Regions from separate parts of the Homo sapiens genome. Here all the other regions are linked to region 1. Evidence: promoter capture Hi-C in 16 types of primary human blood cells and fetal thymus (Javierre and others, 2016). All regions are on one chromosome and are shown on one strand. Each heading gives the region's core, a stretch centred on a gene start or on the middle of the fragment in contact. The rest is flanking DNA. Distances are from core to core; before and after follow the strand shown. Region 1 holds the start of ZNF326 (zinc finger protein 326). Region 2 has its middle 23 kb from the start of LRRC8B. Region 3 has its middle 5.8 kb from the start of LRRC8B. Region 4 overlaps LRRC8B (leucine rich repeat containing 8 VRAC subunit B). Region 5 has its middle 29 kb from the start of LRRC8C-DT. Region 6 has its middle 10 kb from the start of LRRC8C-DT. Region 7 overlaps LRRC8C (leucine rich repeat containing 8 VRAC subunit C).

The links. The method cuts DNA at HindIII sites, captures the fragments that hold promoters and counts their contacts. A CHiCAGO score of 5 or more calls a contact.
Region 2: a contact is called between a fragment that was not itself captured here and the fragment with the promoter of ZNF326 in region 1, in 3 of 17 cell types (non-activated CD4 T cells, naive CD8 T cells and total CD4 T cells). The highest score is 6.8, in non-activated CD4 T cells.
Region 3: a contact is called between a fragment that was not itself captured here and the fragment with the promoter of ZNF326 in region 1, in 14 of 17 cell types (non-activated CD4 T cells, total B cells, naive CD4 T cells and 11 more). The highest score is 14.4, in non-activated CD4 T cells.
Region 4: a contact is called between a fragment that was not itself captured here and the fragment with the promoter of ZNF326 in region 1, in 1 of 17 cell types (naive CD8 T cells). The highest score is 5.5, in naive CD8 T cells.
Region 5: a fragment that was not itself captured here is called in contact with the fragment with the promoter of ZNF326 in region 1 in 12 of 17 cell types (fetal thymus, naive B cells, total B cells and 9 more); the score reaches 9.2 in fetal thymus.
Region 6: a fragment that was not itself captured here is called in contact with the fragment with the promoter of ZNF326 in region 1 in 8 of 17 cell types (naive B cells, total CD4 T cells, megakaryocytes and 5 more); the score reaches 6.3 in naive B cells.
Region 7: a fragment that was not itself captured here is called in contact with the fragment with the promoter of ZNF326 in region 1 in 2 of 17 cell types (erythroblasts and megakaryocytes); the score reaches 5.5 in erythroblasts.

The regions. Positions count from the first base shown.
Region 1 is chr1:89,993,760-89,996,500 of GRCh38, reverse strand. ZNF326 (zinc finger protein 326) reads right to left here and starts at 1,391. Exons shown (of 12, transcript NM_182976.4): 1 at 1,228-1,391. The coding sequence starts at 1,243. It also overlaps the pseudogene GEMIN8P4. RefSeq lists enhancers at 676-725, 607-1,172, 1,173-1,739 and a silencer at 946-1,585. The HindIII fragment of the contact is 7,808 bases long and covers 91-2,741 here.
Region 2 is chr1:89,500,759-89,503,499 of GRCh38, reverse strand. No RefSeq gene overlaps it. Among named protein-coding and RNA genes, the nearest start is that of LRRC8B, 23 kb to the left of the region's middle. The HindIII fragment of the contact is 5,382 bases long and covers 1-2,741 here.
Region 3 is chr1:89,517,685-89,520,425 of GRCh38, reverse strand. No RefSeq gene overlaps it. Among named protein-coding and RNA genes, the nearest start is that of LRRC8B, 5.8 kb to the left of the region's middle. The HindIII fragment of the contact is 3,959 bases long and covers 1-2,741 here.
Region 4 is chr1:89,583,300-89,586,040 of GRCh38, reverse strand. LRRC8B (leucine rich repeat containing 8 VRAC subunit B) reads right to left here. Exons shown (of 6, transcript NM_001369817.2): 5 at 1,252-2,741. Among named protein-coding and RNA genes, the nearest start is that of LRRC8C-DT, 48 kb to the left of the region's middle. The HindIII fragment of the contact is 1,459 bases long and covers 695-2,153 here.
Region 5 is chr1:89,602,589-89,605,329 of GRCh38, reverse strand. No RefSeq gene overlaps it. Among named protein-coding and RNA genes, the nearest start is that of LRRC8C-DT, 29 kb to the left of the region's middle. The HindIII fragment of the contact is 1,609 bases long and covers 611-2,219 here.
Region 6 is chr1:89,621,142-89,623,882 of GRCh38, reverse strand. It overlaps a transcript of LRRC8C not described here. Among named protein-coding and RNA genes, the nearest start is that of LRRC8C-DT, 10 kb to the left of the region's middle. RefSeq lists a silencer at 659-953. The HindIII fragment of the contact is 8,438 bases long and covers 1-2,741 here.
Region 7 is chr1:89,650,754-89,653,494 of GRCh38, reverse strand. All of the region lies in intron 1 of LRRC8C (leucine rich repeat containing 8 VRAC subunit C), which reads right to left. Among named protein-coding and RNA genes, the nearest start is that of LRRC8C, 19 kb to the right of the region's middle. The HindIII fragment of the contact is 725 bases long and covers 1,057-1,781 here.

The sequences.
Region 1 (2,741 bases), core at 142-2,641:
CTGAACTTACTATTTCAAAGTAACTGAAAAGTATCTACAAGAGGGCTATTCCAGTCCCCTTTCACAAATCTGTACCTAGATATGAAAGCTTTAATTCTTTGTTGCATGAAATGTTATGAAAAATCAAAAGCTCATCGAGTAAGACATATGCTGAGATCACACCTCATTTAAAGATCATTTTTTTGGTGGGGTTAAAAGTTTACAGCCTACTTAGTGAACTGGTTTTACTTAAGCATGCCTGGTTACTCAGGATTAAATCCAGTTTAATCACATAAGTCCTTTCCCATGTCTCCCTAATGTTGTCACTACATACCACTTTATCTTGACACCAATTCCAAGCAAGGTTTGAAAACAAAAGTGAAGACCAAATTAATATTACTTTGTGACCCTGTAAAAGTGGTTTAAAGAATTAGTATCTGAGACAACTGAAAAGTATTGCTAAAATACAGTTTATTTAATCCGTAAGTCAAACACTTACAAGGCTGTGTACAGGTCTAAATGTGAAGGACATTTGATGCTTGCTGTGCCAAAATTCTGATTAACTTAAATCCTACCTACACACGATCCAAAGAAAAGTGCTTTGGTTCACATAAATATTTCAAGTTAGGGATTAATAAGCAGGTAATTTTTGGTGATAAACACCCCAGTTTACTAACCAGGAAACATCTTGCTTTCCATTTTGCATAGATATTTATCTATACATATCACTTACAGACACCCTTTCAACTCATCTTAAACCGGGACAAACAGAAACATCACTGTGAACAAGCCTCTGAAAATTCTATCTGGCAAGAAGTAACCCGAGGCTGAGGATTAACTAAACGGACGGTCTGGGTCGCTGCCCTGTGGGGCGAATGCGAGACTAGGTGGGTGAGGCCGCACTCGCCCGTTTGCCCGAGACCGGGAAGTTGGAGACGTCGGGGCAATTTCCACTACCAGGGGCCAAGGCGAGTCTGGGGCTCCAGCCCGGAGGCTCTCGCGCTCTAGGCGCGTCCTACCGGACACCGAGTTCTCTTGTCTCCGCCGGCAGCGGGCGCCGAGCGGGCCGAATCGGGGCGCGTGGGTCCCCAAAGAGGCCGACTCCGGGCGCTGGGCCCGGGGCGGGCGGGCGGCCTCCGGGCCCGCAGAACAAAGCCCACACGGCCATCTTGAGACGGTAAACAGACCCCCTGCGTAGGCCACCCCGCCTCCTGCCAGCTGCGCCGACCAGCCAGAGGCAGCGCTTACCGTCCTCGAAGTCCATGGCAGAGGCTGAGGGCCGTCGGCCTTGGCGGCGCTAGGCTGAGCTATGGCCGGCGGCGAGCGTCCGCGACCCGCGATTCCACACGATCACTCCGCGCGACCGAGAGCGGCGCGCTACCAGCCCGGGAGCCGCAGGCCACAGCGAGGCTGGGGAGGCGGGGCCGACCGGCGCTACCAGCCCCATCGGCGCGGCCTGCTATTGGCTGACGCGGGCTGGTGGGCGGGCCCTCGCGTGGGGGGCGGGAAGCAGGTCCGCTGTCACGCTCGGAGGTGCTGACCCTCTGGAGCCGCTGACGGGGAAGGAAGGTAAAAAAGGAGCGCTAAAGATTGGCGGGGGTTGTGGGAAAGCAAGCCGAGTGTACGGGAAGGGCCGGCTGCGGCCCGCCATGTTTGAACCTGGCAAGAGCGAAAGAAGCCGGTTGGAATGCCTTCTTCCTGCCCAAACTAATAAAACCGCATGCCTACCTTTTGCTTAGTATTGGCTAGGGATGACTAATCATAACATTTGTAAGTACTTACGGGGTTTCCTCCATGGAGACACAGAAGTCTGGGACGTTTCTAGAAGCCTGTGGCAAATTTGAAAAGCAAGATACAAAATAGCGTATGGAGTCTGATTATCGCTATGTCAATAAATTTTCTTAAAGGACAAAGCACTGAAATAAAATGGAAATAATAATTCTTTTAAAAAATTTTTAAATTATTTTTATAGAGATGGGGGTTTTGCCATGTTGCCCAAGCAGGTCTCCAACTCCTGGACTCAAGCGATCCCCCCACCCCCAGCCCCGTCTCCGCCTCCCAAAGTGTTAGGATCACAGGCGTGAGCCAATGCGACCCGCCTGGAAAGAATTCTAAAACATGGCCTGCTTGGCCACCGCCCAGGATCTGCAAGCTGCGCGCCCACAAGTTTCGGCACCCATTTGGACTTTCACAATCGGAGATGGCAGTGGTGAAGGCATCAACATCAAAAGCTACCAGGCCTTGGTATTCTCATCCAGTATATGCAAGATACTGGCAACATTATCATCAAGCAATGGCTTGGATGCAAAGCCACCACAATGCCTACAGGAAGGCGGTGGAATCCTGTTTCAGTCTTCCATGGTTCTTCCTTCCTGCGCTTCTTCCCCAAAGCTCTTACGATAACCAGGCTGCGTATCCTCAGTCCTTCTATGACCATCATGTGGCCTAGCAGGACTCCCCCTGCAGTTCTTCACATTTCAGAGGGTCTGGGCAACATCCACATGGCAGCAGTAGGATCCAGGCATCCACAAGAGAAGACCAAGCCTTATCCAAGGAGGAAGAGATGGAGACCGAGTCAGATGCAGAGGTAGCATGTGACCTGAGCAATATGGAAATCACCGAAGAGCTCCGCCAGTACTTTGCAGAGACAGAGAGGCACAGAGAAGAACTACTGCGGCGGCAACAGCTGGATGCGGAGCGCCTGAACAGCTACGTGAACGCTGAACACGACCTGTACTGCAACACCCGCCGGTCGGTAGAGG
Region 2 (2,741 bases), core at 165-2,664, 490 kb after region 1:
CACTTTTTTTTCTGCTCGTTCAAAATATATTATCAAATAAGTAACTCTCAAACAGTTTTCAAGTAGAGTAGCCACTACTCCAAATAATGTGCCATTTGAACATCATAGAAATATTTGAAAGTGGTGATTTTAATCATAAAACGATAATCGTCTATTCTCCTAAAACAGAATGTATGATTTTAGACCCAGAAAAACCAGAGCAATCTGACAAGTTAATAACTCCAACAACAAAATCACAAAGACCCCATTGGAATATGAATATTTTGGGAGTTATAACAAGGACATTTGAGACCTATTATGCTCAAATGGAATACTTTTCAGTTTCCTATAACATCTGCTTTCTCATTGCCAGCCAAAGAATGGTAATGTGATTGAGCTACATTTTTAATCTCTGGCTTTCACATTGTTTAAATTTGTTATGCCAGAATATTTTTTAGCAGATGGCATTTCAATCTTTGTTTAAGATTTTTTTTAGAACAGATTCTAGAAGAGCTGACAACTAAATTCTCCTTAGGAAGTGATTCTTTATCTGTACCAGTGGAAATAGATTCAGATCACAACTGGCTTAAGCTGACGTGAGAAGCAGTGGTATTAATGATTGGTATCTGCTGCTAGATGACCAATTGTGATACTTAATTCCCTACAAAATCATACTAGCCTGCAGTTTACTGTTATCATTATTTTGATTTTGTGTGTGTGTGTGTGTGTGTGTGTGTGTGTGTGTGTGTGTGTGGGATAGGGTCTCTCTCTGTTTCCCAGACTGGAGTGCAGTGGTGTGATCACGGCTCACTGCAGCCTTGACTTCCCAGGCTCAAGCAATTCTCCTGCCTCAGCCTCCCAAGTAGCTGGGACTACAGGTGTACACCCACCACGCTCAGCTAAGTTTTAAACATTTTTAGTAGAAACAAGGTCTTACTATGTTTCCCAGGCTGGTCTGGAGCACAGGGCTAAAGCAATCTTCCTGCCTCAGCCTCCCAAAGTGCTGGGATAACAGGCATGAGTGACTGTGCCCAGCTATTTTGAATTTTTATTGCAACTAGAACAATCTAGCCTATACTTTGCATATACCAATGTCTAATGTTTCTATGCTTCTTTTTCAGATGTATTCGTTTTGTAGTGAATTTGACTTTAATGACCTTTTTTTTTCCTTCAATGCCCACACAAGTCAAGATAAAGTTACCTCTCAATAAAGGGGACCAGGCCCTTTTGATGCATTCAATGTTATTTTTCCTCTTGTTAATTTTTGGTGCTCTGCCATAGTTGTGACATATGTAGCACATGTTATAACACACACATACCCTGGAGAGGCATGTCCGTGGAATACTGAAATGTAGCAATGGTCTCATGATTTTGAATAAATCAAATCTTATTTTCTTCCTGATAATAGTTTGTTTTTAGATATGAATTCCAATAAGCATTATAGAATACTCTTTTGCAAAGTCTACTGCCATTGATGGATGAATATAAAATTATTGGCTTACAAAGAACTAAGTGGAGATATATCTCATTTTAAGCAAACTATTCATATAGAGATCACAAACAGAATTATAAAAATGGCTAATTAGGAGTGGTTATTTATTCTATGCAAGGATAGTTCACAGGGTTCGTTTAAATTGTGAACTGTGATTTAAACATAATTAATAATTAGATTTTAAAAACTTAACTTGTGTACTGGCTTTAGGGATGTGCCTGCTACCATTACACATCAGATAAATACATCAGATGTATTTATCTGAGCCGCTTCCTAAAAAATATATCCATTCGGATGTGGTGCTAAATTTAGGTGAGATTACTTTTTAAATTTCAAAAATATATTTTCTTCTCTTGGAACATGGAGGGTAGAAGAAAGAAACACAAGTATCACTAATATTTACTTAATGCTTAGTTTTTAAAGACTCTTTCCTAAGTGCTCTCTCAGCAACCCATTTAGCCTCGGAACAATTTTTTGAGATGGATGTTCCTATCCTTATTTTGCAGATCAGAAACAGAGGCTTACAGGTAACCATAGCTATACAGCTAGTAAGAATTAAGGAATTAAGGCCCATATGACTCCAAAGTTTACCCTTCCTTAAAAAAATTATTTCTCCAACCATAAAAAGTACAACTAAAAAAACCTTGTTTTGGAATGAAATTATATGTATATATATTTAGTAAAAAGGGCCAGCTTGTTATACTCTAGTGCATGTAAAAAGGTTGTCTTTTCTAGTTAGCTACCTTTAAGCTAAGGCAATTTAGGCCCTTTCAAATTGTGGATTTAGCGTTTTGAAAAAGACTGAAAATGCTTGTAAGAAAATGATTCATTGTATGCATTATAGCCTACCGGCATATTTAATGCTCAGTTTTTATAAGTAAGCCATACTATATATAGGGTCATATTAGCCATTGAAGTCTGTCTTTATGTAAATGGAAGTCAGTTCTCATTGGTGCTATCCCCAGCAATACAGATGGGCTATTTGTTGCATGGTGCCAGCCTGTAGAAGGAAGGATCTTAGAGTGCCAAAGATTGGTTTGACGTTTGACTTAGATTTGAACTAACTACCATATGATGACTCAAGTCATTTATTTTGATCATAGTTTTCTTCATTAGCACTTATTACTGCTCTAGAGATTCAATCCTCACACAAAGGGTGGGTTCCTGAAGGCATCTGGGTTTCCCCTTCTATATCAGAGACCATGGATATTTTATTAATTGCAGTATGTACTGGTATGATTCAGTAGTTTCAAATACTTTTGAAATGCCA
Region 3 (2,741 bases), core at 146-2,645, 480 kb after region 1:
AACCACCTAACTCCTGGGTTTGGCAGGTGTCTTCTGGGCTGATTCCCTGAAAAACAACCAAAATTTAAAGAAAATCTCTGAGTGTCATCAACATTAAGCTATGCTCCATGTGGCCACCTTGATAAGAGTTTGATTTTCTCTGAGTCTTGAGAAAATTTTTATGATAAATGGAAGACAATCTTATCCAATACTAAAGTTTTTTTTCGATTCAGTGTTTGAAAAATATGAGAATGAAAATCTTCTATTTCTTTAAAGAAATAAATGTATTAAACATTGAATTTATATCTATTAAGTAAACATTGAATGCCTACAACACATAAAAAAAGCACTGAGGACCTGACAGAGGTGAGGGAGAATACCAAGATAAATATAGTAATTCCTCTTCTTAAATATATTGTACTCTGGTGGGGAAGGCATAACCATAGAGAACACAGCCTCCTACAGGGGAGTTGAGGTTGGTGCAGGACTGAGGGAGAATCACACTGAACAGAGATCTGAGGAAGTTTACCTTCAGGGTTCTAAATTAAAATGTTTCTTTAATGATATACATTTTATTTTTTAACTTTTTTTTTTGTTTTTTGAGATGGAATCTTGCTCTGTCACCAAGGCTAGTGTGTAGTGGCATAATCATGGCCCACTGCAGCCTCAACTTCCTGGTCTCCAGTGATCCTGCCACCTCAGCCTCCCGGGTAGCTGGGATCACAGGCGCTTGCCACCATACTTGGCTAATTTTTGTATTTTTGGTAGAGACAGGGTTTTGCTGTGTTGGCCAGGGTGGTCTCGAACTCCTAAGCCCAAGCAATCCACCTGCCTCAGCCTCCCAAAGTGCTGCGATTATAGGCGTGAGCTACCATGCCTAGCCATGGTGTTTAAATTTTGTCTCAGCATCGTGGATCAAGTTTGTTCTAATGAAGTGTCAGATCAGAAGAAAAGAACCAAAGTCTATGAATCAAGGCCACCCATAATTTTGCATTCTTGGCTGGGCGCGGTGGCTCACGCCTGTAATCCCAGCACTTTGAGGGGCCAAGGCAGGCGGATCACAAGGTCAGGAGATCGAGACCATCCTGGCTAACATGGTGAAACCCCGTCTCTACTAAATAATATACAAAAAATTAGCCGGGCGTGGCAGCGGGCACCTGTAGTCCCGGCTACTTGGGAGGCTGAGGCAGGAGAATGGCATGAACCCGGGAGCTGGAGCTTGCAGTGAGCAGAGATCGTGCCACTACACTCCAGCCTGGGCGACAGAGCGAGACTCTGTCTCAAAAAAAAAAAAAATTGCATTCTCAGGAAGTTTGCCAGAGTCCCAGTGGTTCAGCTGTGTATGATTGAGCACATTGTTGTTGATGAGGAATGTTTAGTTATTTATTTTTGGTTAAGCAGTTTGTCGTGTTTTTCTGACATGTTGCAGAGATTTAAAATGAGTTTTCTTTGGGCCTGGGACAAATTCTGAGAATGACCCTGGAGAATGAGCTCAGTGGTGAGAATTCTGAAGATGGGGTGAGTTGGATATTGCCCATGTGTTCAGATTAAGGTAGCTTGATCTAGAAATTCAAACTGCAATTGTGCAAGACTGGCTGAATAGGAGCACAGACTGCAAGAACATAGAATAACCAGTTGTGACCATTTCAAATTGGGACTATGATTGGGGATCAATTCACACAGAATTGATCACTACCCACTGTGGTGACTGCCCACTCTGCCTGAACTATACTATGCCCTTCCTTATCAAACAAGTGCTATGAAGGTGACCTTCCAGACCTTTCTCCTAGGAAAAACACCAATTCCTGCAGCGGGATGCCTGACATCCTCAGTTGATGTGTCTTCTGGGAAGTCGTCCAAAAACTTCTTTGAAAATTTCCCATGCGTCCCTTTTAAAGAAAGAATATATGCTGTCATCTGGGTCACGTATGGGAATCCACCATGGAGCAGCTAGGCAGTTATTGACTCTTGTCCTTTTCATATCTGTAAAAAGGAAATGACTTCCAAGAAAATATTTGTAAGAAAGCCAGGCTGAAAGTCCACAATTAAAGCAGAACTGGTGCTCCTCTGCTCCTTGAAGTGGTCTAAAAAAAGCCCTCATGAGTTCTGCTAGTGACTGAGATATTTGCTGGGATCCCTGGGAGGATTCAATCTGTGTTCCCTGAACTCTGTTGAAATCTGGGCCAGAGGTTTCTTGGTGCTGTGAAAGCAGCTGGCCTTCTGAGGTTCCTCATACTGAATGCATCCATTTCTTGGGTTTGGAGTAACTCAGGTCTGACACTAGCTAGACCTTGATTTTCCGTTTTTTTTTCTCGGCAGCTGTAGGGTTTTTCTTTTACGTTCTCAGCCTAATATAAAACCATCTGTTAATTATAATACATTAGAACACTAGATTTCATTCTCAAATTGATTCTCTAAGAGTAGGAGCTGATATATGTCTGTGGCTTATTAAGAATTTGCAAAAACTCAAAATAAGTTATAAAAGAACAAGATTCAGAATTTGATAGAGCTAGAAAGGAAAAGATGTATGCTAGAAAGAGCACTGGACATGGGGTCTTCTCTTGGATTCAACTGGTGGCTCTGTTGGCCATGAGACCTGGGGCAAGCCATTAATAGTCTAGATAGGAGTTTCTTTTTTCAATGTGTTTTTATATCTATCCTGGACTATATAAGATGTTTCAGAATTCTTAGAATTCATTTTGTTTCATTTATTCATTTACTATACAACAAATATTTATTCTATGCCTATGATGTGAAAAGCA
Region 4 (2,741 bases), core at 175-2,674, 410 kb after region 1:
TCTCCTTTTACATATGAATAAAGTCTGAGAGTTCTAAAAATCAGCATGAATTTTGCTCTCATCCCCCAATTTTCTGGTATTTATCTAACACCCATGTTTTTCAAAAATAATGTATGATTAATATGTTTATTAGCCAACACCATGCTCATAGCTATATTTACCATGACATATGAACTACAAAAAGTCTAAAAGATAATACATTTTCTTTCTTTCTTTCTTTCTTTTTTTTTTGAGACAGAGTCTCGCTCTGTTACCAGGCTTGAGTGCTTGAGTGGTGGAATCTCGGCTCACTGCAACTCCACCTCCCGGGTTCAAGCGATTCTCCTGCCTCAGGCTCCTGAGTAGCTGGGACTTCAGGTCCGTGCCACCACGCGCAGCTAATTTTTGGATAATATATTTTGAAGTGTGGTGGAATAGCTGTACCCATTTTCAAGTAGAGGAATGTCAGTTTCATCCCTTGGTAGATTTGATTTCTGACCAGGTTTTCCCTCTTTCTTCCCAAATGGACATTAGCCTCACTCTCTTGCCTTTAGACTACAGTGAATTTTTCCTTTTTCCTCCTCCTCCATATCTTAACCTAGGAAACTACTCATTTATTTTGTTTTTTCATGGTTTGGTAAAGTTAAGTTTTCTTTAATTTGGTTTTACTATTGCAAATTTGGTTCATTCTAAAGCATGGATCCTGGAAAAAGCTTCTAAGAAGCTGTAGTGTTGCATTATAGAGGCAGGCCTTTCATTTTGAATCATCTTTCTAGACATGCATGCAGATTTCAAATCTTTTTCACCACATCACAAAAAGGATTTATGAATAATTCATAATCCCAGCATTTTAGAACAAGAAGTTATTTTATTATGACAGATTTGGAAAGCTGAAAAGTTTTGCCAAACTCCCTAAATACCTAAAACCTTTATAAAACAAAAAGTAAGCTCTACCATAATGAATTAAATAGTTTAAAATACTTTGTGATGTTTATGTAGAAAACTGGGAAAAAAACAAAGAGAAAAACATTTGCTGAGCAACTATTATGTGCCAGGAACTGTGCCAAATGCTTTTATGTTTTTTCATAAAATCTCCACGATGACTTGTAATTTAGGTTAAAAATGGATGCTCAGTGTTTTGGTAATTTATGCAAGATCGGATTGGGCTTGGCTTGAGAACACACAGTATGATTTGAAGTGTGTTTTCTTTCCCTATGTAATGCACTATAAGTACGGCAGATACTGAATAAAAGAAAGAATGGATTTACTTACATTGTTGTTGGTCACAGCAAAGTACTGCAAATTACTCAGATACTGGATTTCTTCTGGAATGAAGGTCAAGTGGTTATAGCTTAGATCCAAATAATGTAGTTTAGTGCATAGGAAAAGCTGCAAGGGCAGATTCTCAATATTATTATGGTCCAAAGAGAGCTGCTCTAGGTTAGATAATGCCCCAATCTGTGCAGGAATATAAGCAATGTTATTGTGCCACAACTTTAAGCAGGAAAGATTCTGAAGATGCTGAAAGCTAATGATCTCTTCCACAGTTTTAAGGTTATTTTCCCTTAGGTCTAACTCATGCAAATTATTCAGGCTGAAAATGGAATGTGGGATGCGTTCCAGGTCACAGCTGATCAGTTCTAGGCTTTTCAGATTGACCATCTTTTTCAAGTTGTTCAACACAACCAGTTTGCTTCCCTCATTATCAAGGGACAGTTTCTGCAATGAAGGCAGGAGGTCTGTAACAACTTGTGGGATCCGGGAGAGGCTGCTCTTCAAGTACAGGGTCCTTAGATTTTTTAAGTCCTGAAAGCCCTCCAACTGCATAGTACTCAACTGTTCAGGGAGAACACAGCCCGAAAGATAAAGTTCCTTGAGATTCTTGAGGTGAAATACCCAGCGTGGGATTTTTCCCATTTCAGTAAATTTCAGGCGGAGGATTTTTAAATTCTCCTCTAGAAAGGCCAGTGCAGGATGGTCTACGACCAGAGATGAATGGTACACACGAAGCTCCTTGAGGTTGACCAGCTGTGAGACTGCAGAGGGCAGCTTCACCTCTGGGATAAGCTCCAGGCTTAGCACTTCCATTTCAGTTAACTCAAAGACATTGTCTGGAAGACCGTTGAGCATAAAAAGATGCAGTTCTATCTTGTCCTGGGCATTTTTCACAAGCTTACTTTTCAGTTTCTCAACTGTCCATTCATTATTGAGGTTGATCTGTTTCAGTTTGTTCTCACTGACCTCTGATAGGAATATGGAGAAGCGTTTGGAATAAAGAGGATCATACTGATCAGCCAGATGAAGGATGAAGGCAAAGTCATTCTTGACATCAGGGATGTCACTGTAGTTGCTTTTTTCTCTTAACGCCTCAAAGGAATATTGCTTCAGGGAACTCCTCAGCATCCACCACAGGCTGTAGGAAGAGGTCAGACCATAAAGTATAACCAAAATGACATAAAATGAAGCCAGGACCTTAAAGATTTCTGCCAAGGAATAGACACACTGGTAGCGCTTATATCCTGTAAAAGCCTGCACATCAACTGAACAGTCGATTTCAAGAGTGATGTGGGTTAAAAAATATGGAACATAAGTTATGATGAGCACAAACAAAATGACTTTGACTATTATCTGTTTCAGATATACTCTATAAATGATGTCCTTCTGCTCCACATGCATGCGGAATCTTTTCACTTTTTCAAAGATGGCTTTGGCCTGTTCACCCTCCTTCTTGTCCAGGACACTGGAAGTTGGGCTTTCTATGC
Region 5 (2,741 bases), core at 166-2,665, 390 kb after region 1:
AAGGGAACATTCCCTTCAAATATCAGCAAGATGGTCAGATGTTTATGCAGAATCTCAAAGCTCAGCATCAAGATTTCTGGTGAACATGGATGCTGTTTACACTAGCTTTACAGTCTAGTCAGGGAAACAGACACTAAATAAGTCATAGTTATCAAGAGGATGGATACCTCAAAGTATAGTACCAGTTGCCCTGGGAACAAACAACAGGGGGATCTAAGGATGGACTGGTCAGAAAAATGCCACCTTGAAGAAGTGACCATTTATACTGAGAACTGGATGAACAGGAGTTAGCTAGGCATAGGAATTAAGGAAGAGCCTTTTTGGCAGAAATGCATGTGCACAGACCAAGGCAGGAAAGGACATACTTTGAAATATTTTCTATCATCTTTGGAGGAAAACTCATTAAAGCTAACGTAGAAAGCAACCACTAGGGTCAGACAAGATGCTAACATTTTACACATATTATCTCGTGGAATCCTCTTAAGATCTTATGAGGTTTGTTTCTATGAGGAGTGGGTCTTATTTGTCCCTGCTGTCCCCCACTGTATTCACAATACCTTAGGCAGCATCTGGGTAAGTAGCAGACACTCAATATTTATAAAATAAAGCTTACATTTTACAGACGAGGAAGCTGAGGCTCAGAGGTACAAGATGACTCAAGAGTTACTGGTGAAAATAGGGCTCTGATCCAGGTTGGAGATGAGTACCTTCTGGGCTGTCAGTCCAGGAAAATGCTCTTGTCTTCTTCCAGATAAAGCAGAGACTAGGCCGGGCCTTGGACAGTCTTAGACTGGGCATGAGGGCACAGAGCAAGTGAACAGCACATAGCTATGTCTGCCCACTGCATTATCAGATGAACCTGGTGAGCGCATAGTCTGCCCTTGGAGCTGGCACCCAGGTGGGGCTGTACCCTAAGACCAGGCAGAAGTTAACATCTCTCAGTGCACTGAAACCTAGAGTCATGTTTCTCCAACGGGGAGCCTGTTAGCTGACCTGACACTCAGGTCTCAGCTGAACAGAAACTGGAGAACTTAAAACTGTCAGGCATCTATTTGCCCTAGGTCAGACTCTGGGAGGAAAGCCAGTGATAAAGGGTCAGCCTCAGCTTTCAAATTTTGGTGTTAAAGCCCAAGACAGCCAAGTACCTCACAGGTCACCTTTATACCTGTGCAACCTCAGGACATTTCTCTTAACTGGGAATTGTAACCTGAGCATTGTGAAGGCCCTGCTGGGAATGTTTCTAACTGTACTGCCCTAAATAGCTTCTCTTCACTGTCTACTTGGCTCTCCTGACGGGGAGGCACTGCAGAACAGCCCTTTAAGATAATTCCATCCTCCTTCACTTGCTATTATGCTTGAGGTTCTTTAGTGAATAAAAGTCTTATTCATGTGTCATAAAAGTGAATCATTTCCAAAGCTGAAAAAAGAAATGTATGACATACTCAAGTTCTTAAGAAAATTACTCAGTATTAAACATGATCAACACTTCCCACTCACTCAGCATTTTATGTAGATCAGAATATTGGAGTTGGAAGGCCAGCTAGCGAGCATCCAAGCCCACCCACTCACAAGGCTCAGTTAGGCTGCTACCCTGTGCATGCAGATCACACTGCAGATCACACTGGAAATGGCAGGATCACGAGGGCTAGTGCTGAAGCCCAGAAGTCAAAAGAACCCTATTTTCTCTCCCTCTGTCAGACATCCTCCAGCATCCTCACCAACTTCCCCAAGCCACAGCTTACCCTGAGAAGCATGTTAATTTCTTCCAGGCCCTTCTAGTCATTAACTTAGCTGGGGCCTTTACTGATGATCTGAGACAACACCCAAGCCATCTGCCTTATTTCCAGCATGAAAAAATTCTCCATGGACACTCTGTTCATCAGGAGAAATTATTATACTCACTACCAGAGAGAAAGAAAAAGGGAGAAGAGCTAATTTCTTTCATCTTCTAGAAGAAAATTTAAAAATAGTGCAAAGTCCCAGTAAGGTCGTTTGGTAAGTCATCTTCCTTTCATAGAAGAGCTCAGTGGAGAGGGCCTGGGACCCCTTAGAGCCACAGTCCCACTGTGTAACGGGCCTTGGGGACACCTGAGCAGGTGACTCACGTGGACCTGACATGACAAACATTTCAAAGGGCTAGCGTTTTGAAGAACCTCAGGGGAAATGCCAAGTGAACCAGTGTTAAATGGCAGTGGATTGTTAGAGCTGGGGTTGAAGCTTTCTTCCTGCTTCGTAGTGCATTCAGCCAGAAGGCAAAGCCAGGGTCACAGCATCTTCCAGGGCAAGGAAGGCAGCTTCTTATCTGGAACGTGGCATGAATTCAATAAGGACAGCCTAACTTGTCCCTCCTCCTCACTCTTCTCACTCTCCAACATTCTAAATCAGCAGAAGAACAAATTTAGCCTGAACTGTGATTAGAAGTCATTTTGTAAGTCTAAAATGTTTGCCAGCATTTTCCTATAATAAATCAGCACTCTCAGGGAGTTAAACTGGAACTTCCATTCTCTAATAAAACCCAAACTGACGTGAGCCTCATTTGCAAACTGAAACAAAAAACACTAAATGTTAACAACTCTTTTTAAGAGGTTGGGGTCATTATCCAACATCACCCACAGGGTCAGAAATCCAGCATGACACTCCATTCTTCTAATGACAGCAAATGTAGATTTAGGTTAAAACATTAAAATATAAACTATGCACTTTCAAAATAATCAAAGTTTATAAATAAATGGGTTATTTGG
Region 6 (2,741 bases), core at 131-2,630, 370 kb after region 1:
TTCTTTACAACGACTAGCTTTTTCCTCTCTACTAGGTGGAAATTGATGGGATAACTTGATATACTTATCTACCCTCCCTCTCTGAATCATTCCTGGCCTAATGAATATTCTCTCCTATGAATGCTTTTCTAGGCCTGTTGTGGCATTTTTCTTTTTTTTTTGAGATGGAGTCTAGCTCTGTTGCCCAGGCTGGAGTGCAGTGGCACGATCTCGGCTCACTGTAACCTCTGCCTCCTAGGTTCAAGCAATTCTCTTGCCTCAGCCTTCCCAGTAGCTGGGACTACAGGCACATGCCACCATGCCCGGCTAATTTTTTGTATTTTTAGTAGAGACGGGATTTCACTGTGTTAGCCAGGATGGTCTTGATCTCCTGACCTTGTGATCTGCCCACTTCAGCCTCCCAAAGTGCTGGGATTACAGGCGTGAGCCACTGTGCCCAGCCTCTCTTGTGGCATTTATGATAGCCTTCCATCCTTGTTTCTGAGGAAGATTCAATAGAGAGCTATTAGAAGTGATGTACTCTGATTAAGGAATTTCAAAGAAAAGACACCATTAATTTAAAGTCCAGCATGATAACATTTCATTACAATGATGAGACAATATTTTATATTCTATTTTATTTTGAAAAATTATTTAAAAATCAATTCTCAGTGAAAAGGAATTACCATGTTACATTAAAGAATGTGTGTGTGTGTGCGCATGTGTGTGTGTGTGTGTGTGTGTGTGTGTGTCTGAGTTAGTTGCGTTGATAGCTTCCAAAATGAAAACACTAGGGTTCAGATAAGATGAACTGCTTCCAGTGACCAAAAGGAGGAGCATTTAACCACAACATGAAAACAGCTTATGGTCTCATTTAGGAGACTGAAAACATCTCTGATCTCTTAAGTGTCTCGAATATTCTTTAGCTTGTAAAATGCTCCAGATAATAGCTATTTATATCTGATCTGATACCATTTTATATTAATTGTTCATTTTATTGGCTTAACCAAAATTCAAAATTATACCTTCTATAATAATATATCTGATCATTTGCTTTGAAACAAACACTTTCTGATTGAAAAATTATCAGAGACTTTAAAGTATAACAGTATTGATTTAAGAGCAACCAGGTCTGCACATTTGTAAGATGACAAGCAAGTTGTAGGCTGACAACTTGCTGCAGTGATTTGAATGATACAGACAAGGTAGCTGATTAACATTTGCTGAGGATTTACTCTACGTCAGGCATGATGTTAAAGATTTCACATGTAGGCCAGGCGCGGTGGCTCACCCCTGTAATCCCAGCACTTTGGGAGGCCGAGGCGGGCGGATCGCAAGGTCAGGAGATCGAGACTATCCTGGCTAACACAGTGAAACCCCGTCTCTACTAAAAATACAAAAAAATTAGCCAGGAGTGTTGGCGGGCGCCTGTAGTCCCAGCTACTCGGGAGGCTGAGGCAGGAGAATGGCGTGAACCCAGGAGGCGGAGCTTGCAGTGAGCCGAGATCGCGCCACTGCACTCCAGCCTGGGCGACAGAGCGGGACTCCATCTCAAAAAAAAAAAAAAATTTTACATGTATGATTTCATTTCATCCATGTAACAACAGGATAACAGGTAATCTTACTATTCCCATTTCACAGATAGGGAGTCTGAGGCACATACAGCTAATGTCACTTGCCTAGCCTCATGCTGCTAGTAAGTGGCACAGCCAGGAGTATAACCCGGACAGCTTGACTTGAAAGCCCACACTCTTATCACGCCCTTTCTATCTTAAAACATCACAGTATTTTAAACTGCTGGAAAATGTCATTTTTTCCCCCTAGAGTGCTAAACAAAAATAAACAGTCTTGCTTATCTGGAGTTTCATACCTAATTATCTTCACATATACGATGTTTTTGATCTTCATTTCTCTACAGTGAATATATTTCAGGACCATTAAGGGTGAATTGGTATGCATCAGCCCATGTTGACTGAGAAAAAAAGATACCGTATAGCCCATTTTGAGTAGGGAGACATTCTAGTTATGCCACTTGGAAATGTTTCACATAAGGTTTTGCTGTATCCCAGACTCCTAACATAGATGCATTTGAAAAATCATTTAGTAACCTAAAACAAATACCAAGAGATGTTGAGTGTCTTTAAGTCTATATCCAAAGAGGGAGGAAAGAGCAACAATATTTTAAAAGTTACTAATTCTCTACCTGGAGATGTTTCCATTTTTCATGATTATAAAGACTATTACTGCCAGCCCCAAACTGCCCAATTTCCAGGTTCCCCAGGTGGGCACATTGTGATGCTGCCTAGGCTACAAGTCACATCACAATACTTTTCCTCAGATCAGACTGGCAGCTCAGCCTCTCCAGTTTCCCAAGGAGGGTGAGGTGAGGAGTGGTGCAAGACTTCTGAGTGCTTTAAGGGGAAAGGAATTTTTTTTTGAGATGGTGTCTCGCTCTGTCGCCCAGGCTGGAGTGCAGTGGCGATCTCGGCTCGCTGCAAGCTCCGCCTCCTGGGTTCACGCCATTCTCCTGCCTCAGCCTCCTGAGTAGCTGGGACTACAGGCGCCTGCCACCACGCCTGGCTAATTTTTTTTTTTTTTTTTTTTTTTAGTAGAGACGGGGTTTCACCATGTTAGCCAGGATGATCTCGATCTCCTGACCTCATGATCTGCCCGCCTTGGCCTCCCAAAGTGTTGGGATTACAGGCGTGAGCCACCGCGCCTGGCCAAAAGGAATTTTTAAACTCTTTTATGATTATTTCTTA
Region 7 (2,741 bases), core at 170-2,669, 340 kb after region 1:
TTTCACAAGAATACTAAACATTATTGGCCTTTTAAATTCATTGTCTTGTGACTGCACAGTGAAGCTTTCTAGAGGCTACATGATACATGACAGTGAACAGACTGATTGCCAGACATTAAAGACATTTGCAAAAACTTAAACACTGACATCTTTTTGTTCTTTTGTTTTGGAAAATATAATTTCAAAACATATGTTACTTGTGTTAACATTCAGTGGCATTATTGTTATTTTAAAATTAATAAATAATCAGATTTACATTTCTGAGCTCTTAGGGGTTAGAGCTCTTTGGAATTTTCAATAATTTGAGTACAAATGCCCTGAGACCAAAAGGTTGGCTAATGATTGCTCTATACCACAGCCAGAGTGATCCTTTGAAAACGCAAGTCAGATTAAGAACTCTCTAATGGTTCCTCATCTCATTCAGAGTAGAGGTGGACAAGACACTTCATGAGCCTACAGCACCCTCTCTTAACGACCACTCTCCCTATTGTTCAGAGCTGTGCACCCACACTGGCCTTCTTGCTGTTCCTCCATAATGCCAGGGGAACATATTTATATTTGCTGTCCCCTATTCTCAGACCTCTCCTCCATAGATATCTGTGTCTCCCCACCTCCTCCAGATCTTTGCCTTATGAGCTGTATTTTTAATTGTGTCCCTTTTCAGATGTTTATATATTGCAACGATTCCCCCTTCTCCTGTGATACTGCGACCCCGTAACTTGCCACTTGTATATTTGTTTACCCTATCCTTCTGTCATAGAGTAAGTCCTCTGGGACAGTGGCTTTCTTTTTAATCCCCTAGAAAGCCAGTGGATCTGGTGATCTGCACCCAGTGTGGTCCTCTTTTATTTTCCCTTTGATCCACCGCTGAGAGCCTCGTACCTAGTGTGGTCTTAAATGATAATGCAAGACTGATCATAAGGGGTTATCTGATTAAACCTTCAGGCAAGACCACACTAAACCCATGACAGAGAGCCCCAACTCTGTTCTATTTTTAAGATATCCCAGAGACCCAGCCACTATGCAAATTTGTGAAAAGGTTGATTACTTGAAGCTTCAAAATTATTATTCTTAACCACCAAAATCTTTGTGCAGCAGGTTAAACTCTTATCTCTTTTCAGAAGAGATGCAAAATTGCTCCTCAGATTCAGAGACCTTTTCATACCCCTGGAAATAATTACTAACTTTTTCCTGGACCCCATCTTAGCAGCAATATCTCAATTCCTTTCATCTTTCCCACATAGATCCTGTTTTCAATGCTCTAACCCACTCTGTGATGGTCTTCTGATTCTTTTCCCATTGTTTTATCTTCATATTTCATTGTGTATCTAAATTCCAACAAGGTATGAGTTAGTGTGGCATCAAAAGATTCCTACAGTTTTACTTTTCTTTTACTGCACCCCAGCACTCCAGTGTATGCTTTTAAAAATATACTACATTGCCTTGAAAAAGAAAAATAGTCCCAAACCTGTTTGTGTGATATTACTTACAACCTCCTCTCAGAAAGAAATGAGTGTTCCTGACAAAATGCTTCTGTAATTGATTCTCATGAACTTTAATGACACTAGGACTTATTTTGGGAAATTAGATATGACCCATGCAGTTGACCAGCTGTCAACCAAGAATTTAGTGACCTTTAACAAAATATTGTTTTATTTTGATGTCAAATCTAGTAATTTTTCTAACAATTCTCTTTTGCTACAAAATGTCCCTATCAAGAGCAAATCTCTGAATTAGCCTACTAACAAACTCCTCCCTTACAGCAAGTTTATTACAAAGCTTTAACATACACTAACAAGTAAATTGTCAATCTTTTTTAAAATGCAAGGATCCATAAACTTTTTCCTATAAAGGGAGGGAAAGCAAATACTTAGGGTTTATAAATCATATGTGGTCTACGTTGCTTTTTTTTTTTTTTTTTTTTTTTGAGACAGAGTCTCGCTCTGTCACCGAGACTGGAGTGCAGTGGCGCGATCTCAGCTCACTGTAAGCTCCACCTCCCAGGTTCATGCCATTCTCCTGCCTCAGCCTCCCGAGTAGCTGGGAGTAGAGGCGCCCGCCACCATGCCCGGCTAATTTTTTGTACTTTCAGCAGAGACAGGGTTTCACCGTGTTAGCCAGGATGGTCTCGATCTCCTGACCTCGTGATCTGCCCACCTTGGCCTCCCAAAGTGTTGGGATTACAGGCGTGAGCCACTATGCCTGGCCTATGTTGCATATTCTTTTTAAAAAATTTAAACAATCCTTTAAAAATAGAAAAGCCAATCTCAGCAAGTGGGCCATACCAAAACAGTTTGCACTAACTCAAAATGCATGGGCCACAGCTTGTCAATTCCTGTTGCAATGGTTCTCAGAACTCCCTTGGAGACCTGCTCACCTCAAGAGAAACAGTTATTGTCAGCCTCTGGATCAAGGTACTTCATGGCATATATGCTATTGTTACCCACTGTGTTATGCTTCTTGATCACTGGATTATTTTTTTTCTGAGATATGGCAATTTGAGCACTTGAATGTCAATGTCTAATGGCCATCTGAAGGGACTCCCATTCTACTGGGCTTAAAATGACTTGCCATCTAAGTTGAGAGCTTGGAGAGCTGTTTGAGCTCTAAGAAGTGGTTGAACTTGGGGTTGGAGTTAAAACAGGACTCCTCCCCCAGGGTGAAATCAGAGCAGTATTTGATATTGGAGGGATGTAAGTGTGGAAGTGTAGAACCCAAAACTTCTGTTCCTAGAACCCATG